2 separate regions of the Homo sapiens genome follow, and region 1 is linked to region 2. Evidence: promoter capture Hi-C in human tissues and cell types (Jung and others, 2019). All regions are on one chromosome and are shown on one strand. The core of a region is centred on a gene start or on the middle of the fragment in contact, and the rest is flanking DNA. Distances in the headings are between cores, read along the strand shown.

Region 1 (4,168 bases), core at 1,399-3,898, 100 kb before region 2:
ACAATTTCCACTGATGGTAACCGACCATGCCAGACTGATCTTCCCAAGGGCTCTGTGAAGCTTCCAACAGGTGGCCATCCTTGCCCTTGAGTTCCAGTAATGTTGTCCCCTTTCTGATCCCAAAAAATCTAAACCCATAGCCCTGTGTGAATTCACCTTACTCACCTTAGAAGGGGGAAGACAACCCAGATGTTTTTGGAAAAGATGAAACCAAACCCTGGTATAGTGGTGGAGAAGGGAATCTGACACTAGCTTCTGTGGGAAGTGGGAAGATGGAAAGGAAGGGTTGAGACAGGCTCACTTCTCTTGGGTGTCCCTGCAGGAGGTCTTCTCTGTCCATTTTCTGCCAATAGAAACATCCAGCTGGTCCTTCAAATCCTTTACATTTCCAAAGTTGAGTCTTTTCTTGGGTTTACACTTGCTAAAGTAAAGGAAGCCAAACAAAACAAAAGAACAAACAAAAACTCTGTGGGAGAACCCTTAGATCAGACTCGCCCTAAAGCTATCCAGTGAATGCTTTGTCATTTGCCTGAGATAAATTCCTCTAACAGAAGGGAGGGAGAAAGAAAATGCCTCCCAAGTCCTCATCCATCTCTAACCCTGTCTGAAATATCTTCATATTAACATATTCATTATGATAGCACTATTAGACTAATCAAACATCTAAAGCTAACATCGTTTCTTCATTTCTTTCTTTTTTTTTTTTTTTTTTTTGAGACAGAGTCTCACTCTGTCGCCCAGGCTGGAGTGCAGTGGCGTGATCTCGGCTCACTGCAACCTCCACCTTGCTGGTTCAAGCAACTCCTCTGCCTCAGCCTCTTGAGTAGCTGGGATTACAGGCGCATGCCACCATGCCCGGCTAATTTTTTTTTTTTTTTTTTGTATTTTTAGTAGAGAGTGGGTTTTACCATGTTGGCTAGACTGGTCTCGAACTCCTGACCTCAGGCAATTTGCCCGCCTTGGCCTCCCAAAGTGCTGGGATTACAGGCGTGAGCCACTGTGCCCAGCCTAACATCATTTCAGAACACCATTTTTGGGGTGCTTGTCTTCTAGGCAGAAGAATTTTGCTTCAATATTCGTTTATTTAACAGATATTTACTGAGCATCTACTATGTTCCAGGCATTGTTATAGGCACTGGAAATGGAACAAGGAACAAAACAAACAAAAATCCCTGCTTAGCCGGGTGCAGTAGGCATACACCTGTACAGTCCCAGCTACTCAGCAGGCTAAGGCCAGAGGATGGCTTGAGCCCAGGAGTTCAAGTCTAGCCTGGACAACATAGCGAGACTTTGTCTCTAAGGAAAAAAAAAAAAAAAAGTCCTGTCTTCATGGATCTTACATTCTAGAATGTTAGGAGATAAGAGATCAGTTTTCAGATGTGTTGCTGAAAACCCAAGTGTCACTTATTTATTGTATTAGCTCTTTTCGTGTCTTTGGAAAGAGTTCAGACTGTTACAAATTTACCAAGTTTCTCTACCATAAACCATGGTTTATAATATTGCACACAGCTATGTGAAGCTTTTACAGTCCTGGATCATGTCCCCAACCCCACAGTTCCATTTTAGCCAATCTCCACGCACTCTTCCCCCAAAAGACAATCATTTGCTGAGTCTTCTCTTCTTCTAGAGGCCTAGGCTGCTGGTCCAGTAAGGGTGGAGAGACCAGGACATGACCCCACGACTGACTGGTGCCCTTCCCCCGCTCTTCTGGCCTCAGCAGTCCCCCGACAGGCGGCTCTGTCAGGGCTGGGGAGTGGAGGGGGCTGCAAGCCATTGCAGGGCTGAACTCTCTATGAACCGGGAAGGAAGGGGGTGGGGGCAACAGAGCAGAGCCAACAGGAGGAGGCTGGGGAGGCAGGCTTCTGGACAAACCTCTCTGGCTGAGTAAATATTGAGCTGCCTCATCTCCAAGGTGGGGGTTGAAATGGAGCTGTCAAGCCAGAGTAAACTGAAGGGAGCATCAGGCCTCTAAGGAGCAGAGGGCGCATGTTTGGTGCAGCTCCCTCCCTGCTCGGTTCCCCTCCAGGCAGAAAGGGCTGCAGGGCTCAGAATTCTCTGGACTCAGGCCAGTGATCTGGAGAGGATGAAGGAAAGGGGTGATTTTAATTAGCTCTAACTAGGCCAGTAAAATACATCCAACAGGATGCTTCTCCACCCAACTATTTCCATCTCCCACCAAGTTTACACTCTTTCTTACCTAAGTCTTCATCTACCCTCAAAGGAAAGAATGAGTCCAGCTGCAGTGGGATAATTTAACTTATATTAAAGACTGGGAAAATAGGCCCAGAGAGGTTAAGTGACTTACCCAAGGACACAAGGAAGGGTCTTAGTAGACTAAACTTAGGTCTCCTGACTTCCTACAAAATTATTTCTTCTCTGAAGCATCTGATCCATTTCTTTTCTGATGAAGAGAATAACAGTGGATGAGGGCCAGGAGGTCAGCCTTGGAGCTGAATCCTGCAGCTACTTGAGCCTCCATGTTCTCCCAGGAATGGACATTAAGTATTTTACATCTCCAACTTTTGTCCCACCCAGGATACACTCTGATTATAGGAAGCATTTTGAGAGCCACAGAAATAGCAAAAGCTGAAGCCTCTGGAATACTCTGGTTGAGTCATGCAAGGAATTCAGAGCCAGGACTGAGGCACAGGGGAAAAAATCTGGTACAACTGCAGGGGGCGCCAATTTCGTGGACTACAACGAGAATACCCTCCCGAGTTACGCAATGAGTCTGTCTTGTCAAGGACATCCCTCATTATAATACTGTACTTAACTGTAAGCCTGTAAAGCCTGTATTCTGTGGACTCCTCTGAAACCTTTCATTCATAATTATTTTACTGTCTAGCAGCAAGTCCCATGCTTATGGTGCTGGCTGGGTCTGCTGGTACAGCGCAGGGGGGCCAAGGCTGGACAACATCTGCTTTCATCATGCCAAGACCAAGAATAACTCAATGTAAGAAAGTAATAGGAAAATGTCCTATGTAACTATGTAAAATAGGAAGCCTCTGCTCAACACTCACCATACACCAGGCAGTGTTCTAAGCATCTCTCATATATATCATGTATTATTCAATATCCTTCATTGTATATCTGAAGAAACTGAAGCACAGGGAAACTAAACAACTCACATGAGCTCATCCAGCTAATAAAAGGGGACCATTCTGAACACTAAGTTATACTCCAGAACCCTTGCTCTCCACCACCCTAAGTCAGGGAATTGAAGTTTCTGCCTTCCAGACTTCTTATCCATCTTCTATAATGGAGAAGAGAGGGAATGAGTGTGAGAGGCCAGGATAACTTTCCTCTTCGACAGGTGGGTACGCTGAGAACAGAACAAAAAGGTTTCTCAGCCAAATGAACCTTCAGTGTTCTCAGCTGCTAAGAGGGCAATCCCTTCCATTTGTCTCTAGCTCCATACACCTATCAGGGATCAAATAAGCTATGAGTGTGAGAAGTGGGCATAGTCAAGATACTCCCTGGAAGAGATTGGGGACTATAGAAGGGAAGATCACAGTCCCTTTTAATAATGATAATAATTTGTTATTGCTCACTTTGTTTATGTGGGACCATTCCAAGCATTTTACACATATTAACTCATTTAATCCCAACATCAACCCCATGAAATAGGTACTGTCGTTATCCCTATTTTGTAGATAATGAAACTGGGCACAGGGAATTAGGCAACTTGCCCAAGGCCACAGGGCTAGTGAGAGGCAGGGCTTGGATTTGAACCCAGATATCCTAGACATGTCCCCCAACTCCTTGGTGCTGCTCTCTGGCTCATTTTGATCTCCCTTGTCTGTCATCTGGAGAGATTCCTCCAAGCCTGCCATCCACACTCTCTTCTAAACATCATCCCACCAACTCCTTCCCAGGAGCCCGGTGCTATCTGCACAAGGAATGCTCACAACAAAGAAACCTGCATTGGCCGGGCAGGCGTGTTGGCTCACGCCTGTAATCCCAGCACTTTGGGAGGCTGAGGCCGGCAGATCACCTGAGGTCAGGAGTTCGAGACCAGCCTGACCAACATGGAGAAACCCCATCTCTACTAAAAATACAAAATTAGCCGGGCGGGATGGCCCATGCCTGTAATCCCAGCTACTCCTACTTGGGAGGCTGAGGCAGGAGAATCACTTGAACCTGGGAGGTGGAGGTTGCAGTGAGCCGA
Region 2 (4,480 bases), core at 154-2,653:
ATTCCCCGACTCCCCAAGAGGCGGACAGCCCGGGCTGGGGCTCGGGAGCCCCGCAGAGAGCAGCGGGGGACCGCAGAAAAGGAAGCGGTAGCCCCTGCGAGGACGCCGAGGAGGAGAGGGGCCACCGGAGGGAAGGCTCCCGGGGAGGGGCCGGCGCATCCGGGGAGGGGGCTCAGTCACCGCGTCCTGGGCTTCCCCCGCCCCTCCTGTCGCCGGTTGCGGACTCTGCGCGGCTACAGCGCGAGATCTGCTAGGAACAATCCTCCGCCAAGCTGTTGCATCGCAAATAAAATCCTAATGAGCTCCCTCCCCCTTCCCCTTGGCCGGCTTTTACGGTCTGCGCGTGGCGCGGGGAGCTCTGCCAGCCGCACGGCCCCGGGCAGCCCAGTGCGCTCCGGCCCTTGCCCTCGCCGGCTCTCGGCCTCGCTGGCCGCTGGCCCCGGCCCCCGCCAGCTCCTCTCCCGGCCGTCGCCGGTCTCTGGCCGGGCTTTCAGCTGGGGCCTCCGGGAGAGAGGGGGAAAGAGGGCCGAGAGAGCTGCAAGTCGATCCCCGAGCCCCTGTTCCCCGCAGGACTTGGAGAAGTGGGGGCAGCGCTCCTCTGGCGGCCTCAGTCTCCCCTTCTAGAGCACGCAGCTTTCCCCTTCCCTCCGTCTTTCCTTCCTCTCCCCTCCTCCTCCCGGCCCGCTCTCCGGCCACCGCCGCAGTTTCCCTTCACATTGTCCGCAGTTTATTGCCTTTCCCCTCCCCGCCCCCCTCCTGGCCTTCGGCCTGGGTATTTCCTCACTTTTTATAACTTACTTTGATCCGGCCTCTCTTTGTCCTCGCTTCCTTCGCAAATTTTATTGTCCCCGTAGCCGGGTCTTTGATTAGACAGCACGGCCTCCCTGCCCGCCGAAGTTTCCAAACTGTACTCGGGCGTGCCCTGTTTGAGCAGCTCCCCAGGCGCGCCCAGCAGCGGCTCCGCCTTCACCGCCGCCTGGCCCTGCCCCGGGGCCGCTTCGCCGCGCGGCGCCGGCTCCAGCCAGGTGCGGAGGTACCTGCTCTCGGCCGGCGGGACGCCCTGGGGCTGGATGTAAGGGTGGTAGACGGACGGCAGGCTCCCGGACGCGTGCGGGCTCAGCGGCGCCCAGGAGGCGCCGAACACCGGCGCTTTGGGCTGGAAGCTGCACGAGGGGAACTCCAGGTGCTCCGCGTGGCCCGGCTGCCGCGAGCTCGCGTACTGGCCAGAAGGAAACTTGGCTGGAGGCGCGTCCTCACTCTCGTGACTTATGATCGAGTCGACATAATAGCTGCTAAGCGTCCCAGAAATGGACATTCTCAGACATTATCCGGGCGCTTGCAGGGGGAAGGGAAGCGCTCGCGCGGCGGCGCCCAAGCAGGGAGAGGTGGCACCCGGACCGGTGTGAGGGCTTTCGGACGCGACCCCCCCAGCCCCCCACCCTCCCACCCCCACCCCCTGCTCAACTTCTCAGCCAACAAAGTACAGTGGAGCAGCCCGTCTCAGCTCTCCTTGCAAAATGATTGGTCAAAGTTTTTCCGACTGCCTGATAAAGCGTCAGCTCCGACATAAATCAATCGGGCGAGGGGGCTGCGCTCTCGCTGTCATCCGTCCGCACCGCACTCCATATCGAGGATGGATTGTTTTATGCTGATGCAATGTGCTATCACGTCAGGGCTCCGGCGGCCACGTAACCTCAGCCCCAGCTACCGGCCGCCCGGTCCCCCCCTCCCGCTGCAGGAAGGGGGGCAGTTCTCAACATGGGGCGGCGGGGGCGGAGGAGAGGCGGAGGGAAGCGGCGGGCTGCCTTGGGAGGGACGCAGGCTGTAGAGCCCTCTCCCCAGGCGGGTCGGGGAGGGAGGGAGAGCAAGGGCGGAGGGAGGGAGAGAGCCCCAGCCCGGGGAGAAGCCATAGAGGCCCGAGAGGATACTGGAAGAGGAGGTGCTCCTGTCCCCCCACACACACCTCCACCCCGCAGGCCCTCATTTCCTCTTCTCTTTCCCCTTGACAAAAGATGTTTATTAAACAACAACAGCAGCAGCAATCCACAGGAGATGAAGTAAAATGATGAGGGGAAAAGTTGGGGATTTTAGGACGTTGTCCGCTTTGGAGGGGGCTCTCCTTGCACTCTTTGTAGAGATTTACATGACTGCGAGCTTCCCTGGGCCCCTCAGTAGCTGAGGGAGGAGGAGAGAGGTGAATAAAACGACTGAGTGTCCAAGAATCCACTATCTGTCCTGAAATTAGAAACTACTTGAGGTTAAAGGGATCCATCAGGTCCCGGAAACGTGAGCCTAGGAAAGAGTTTAATACAAGGAACCAGAGCGCCTTTACATTTATTGGGCCTTTCTCTGACTCTGGCCAGAAGGATGGATTTAAGATGGTGGTGGTGACGTGGGGGGTGGGGGTGAGGGAAGCCATTTCTCCTTTTCTCCACTGAATAACCACCCAGGCCCCTAAATTTGCCCTGATGAGGGAGCTAAATAGGAGAAAGGGTTAAGGCCACTTTCCTGAGGTGTGACCAGAGCAGAGGCCTGGGAAAGGATCCCCAGTCAGCAAGGGAAGGGGTCCCAAGTTATCTCCCCTTCCATCCAAAGAGGAAGGAGCCTGGGCTGAGTTTTCAGCCCTCCTGTACTACTCCTCTCACCTGAGGCTCCTGCTCTGGAGATTTCCAAACACCGATATAGGGGCCAGTGTGGACAGCGAGCCCATGGTCAGTCTCTTCCCCTCACTGCCTTACCCCCTGCAGACCCCTTCATTGGAGCTTCCAAATAGCCCTTTTTATATATATCTATTCTGTGGCCCTGCACAGGGACTCCCCCGGGGCCCACCGACTGGCTTCCTCGCTCCTCTCCCAGCCCCTGCTCCTCAGCTTCTGCCCTGGTTGCAGTCGCCTCTCCTGGCACTTGGGGAGGTGTGACCCCTGGACAGACCCAGTTCTCCTCTGGTTAGGCTCAGGGGTAGATTGGGGTGGATTTCTCGGCAACTCTCTGACTCTGAGTCCTAATAAGGCAGGCTGCCCTCAGTCCGGTCCTTTTAGCAAAAGAGGGGCCACTCTAACTTGAGTCCGTATCTTTTTGGCCACCTACCCCTCTGCCTTGTAGAAGGCTGCGGATCACCTCCCACACAGGCACACACTCCCACCCGCTTGTCTTTCCAAATGAAGCCATCTCGTGTCATTACACGTGAAATACGAGGGTGAAGCGCCATATTTCTTCACATTATGGCGATTTCAAAATGATTTTTTAAAGATCAATGCCGGCGCCCATCTGGCCCCCTCCTTTCCCACCCCTGCTCTCCGAGGGTGACAGCCCGGCAGATCCGTAACCAAACAGCATGAAGGTCTGCCTTTTCCATAGGACCCAAGTGGGGAAACAAAAATCCGATGCAAATTCTTCCAAGCAGAGGTTGGACGCTTGGGAAAGTCGAGGGAGCTCCCCGGACTCACCAGCGAAAAAGCTGGGCACTGAGCGAATGAATCACAGTTAAGGCAAAGCACCTGTTCTCAATTTGCCAGCCCTATGAAGTCTGCTGTTGGCTTTACCTGTCATAAATACACTCTTCAGGAAAAAAGATTCCCTCCCCCGCCATAAATAATGGTGTTATGAAGCATGGTGGGCTGAGTATATGATTTCTGTAGTATATAAATTAGGGCCTAAAAGGACATGTTTACTACGGACTGGGGTTTTTTTATTTATTGAAAAGTCACAGCGCTGGGCTGTCCTTAAGACCCAAGCAAAGCAGGCACTGCGCTCTGACTGCCGTCTTCCTGGTTCCCCTTCCCTCTCCTGCCCTGACTTTGCAGCTGCCTCTCTGCAACAAGAGAGGAGTCAAGAGGACCACTCAGTTTAGGGAAGAAGTTAGAGGAAGAAGAACACTTGGGCTGATGGCTTGTGCTCTACAAGGGTGAGTTCTCCCAGCAGACAAGATTTGGGTTTGTGGGTTGCTGTCTGTCTGAGGAGTTGCCCTTTATTCCCTGGTGGCTCCTGAGTGCTGGGTGAGAAGGGGACTTAGGCCTCTTTTCTGAGATCGGAACTTAGCCTTTGCTCATGAAGAAGCTGGAGAGTGGAGACAATTTTAAAATGACAGGTTTTGGAGGTCTTGGTCTTCTCAGGGAGCAATGACTCCAGAGGAAAGAGAATGAACTGGCCCCTAAGCCCTGTAGTCTGCATCCCAGCTCTTTGCCGTCCAGGTAAATGCACCAAGCAAGGAGTCCCACCCCAGCCAAGCTTTCTGGAAAGCACTGCTGCCCCAAACTGGAGTTCAACTCCAGCTCAGGCAAATGATTAAAGGGTCAGCTGAGAGACTGTGGACTCCCTCCCACCAAAAAAGCCTTGTTTTCTCCCCAGACAATGGTACCCACCATGAAGGAGGATAGCAAACAGGATTGTGGCTCCTGGAGCCCAGCTTCCAAAGACACTTAGTAAAGGGGTTGCTTCAGTGGGGGTCACCTTATCCTAAGAGAGCAAAACTGCTCCATAC

Evidence for each region. The method cuts DNA at HindIII sites, captures the fragments that hold promoters and counts their contacts. A contact is called where the count stands out against the background at its distance.
Region 1: a contact is called between a fragment that was not itself captured here and the fragment with the promoter of HOXB9 in region 2, in 2 of the 25 tissues and cell types used here (H1 embryonic stem cells and neural progenitor cells).

Annotation. Positions count from the first base shown.
Region 1 is chr17:48,520,492-48,524,659 of GRCh38, forward strand. It overlaps LOC105371808 (a long non-coding RNA gene), which reads right to left. Exons shown (of 4, transcript XR_934811.2): 2 at 2,306-2,401; 3 at 1,873-2,074; 4 at 1-421. Among named protein-coding and RNA genes, the nearest start is that of HOXB1, 8.4 kb to the right of the region's middle. RefSeq lists enhancers at 1-121, 122-811, 1,636-1,930, 1,778-2,300. The HindIII fragment of the contact is 5,868 bases long and covers 1-4,168 here.
Region 2 is chr17:48,624,955-48,629,434 of GRCh38, forward strand. HOXB9 (homeobox B9) reads right to left here and starts at 1,404. Exons shown (of 2, transcript NM_024017.5): 1 at 799-1,404. The coding sequence starts at 1,315. HOXB-AS4 (HOXB cluster antisense RNA 4) reads left to right here and starts at 3,744. Exons shown (of 2, transcript NR_046611.1): 1 at 3,744-3,904. RefSeq lists an enhancer at 257-934 and a silencer at 2,345-2,500. The HindIII fragment of the contact is 6,922 bases long and covers 1-4,480 here.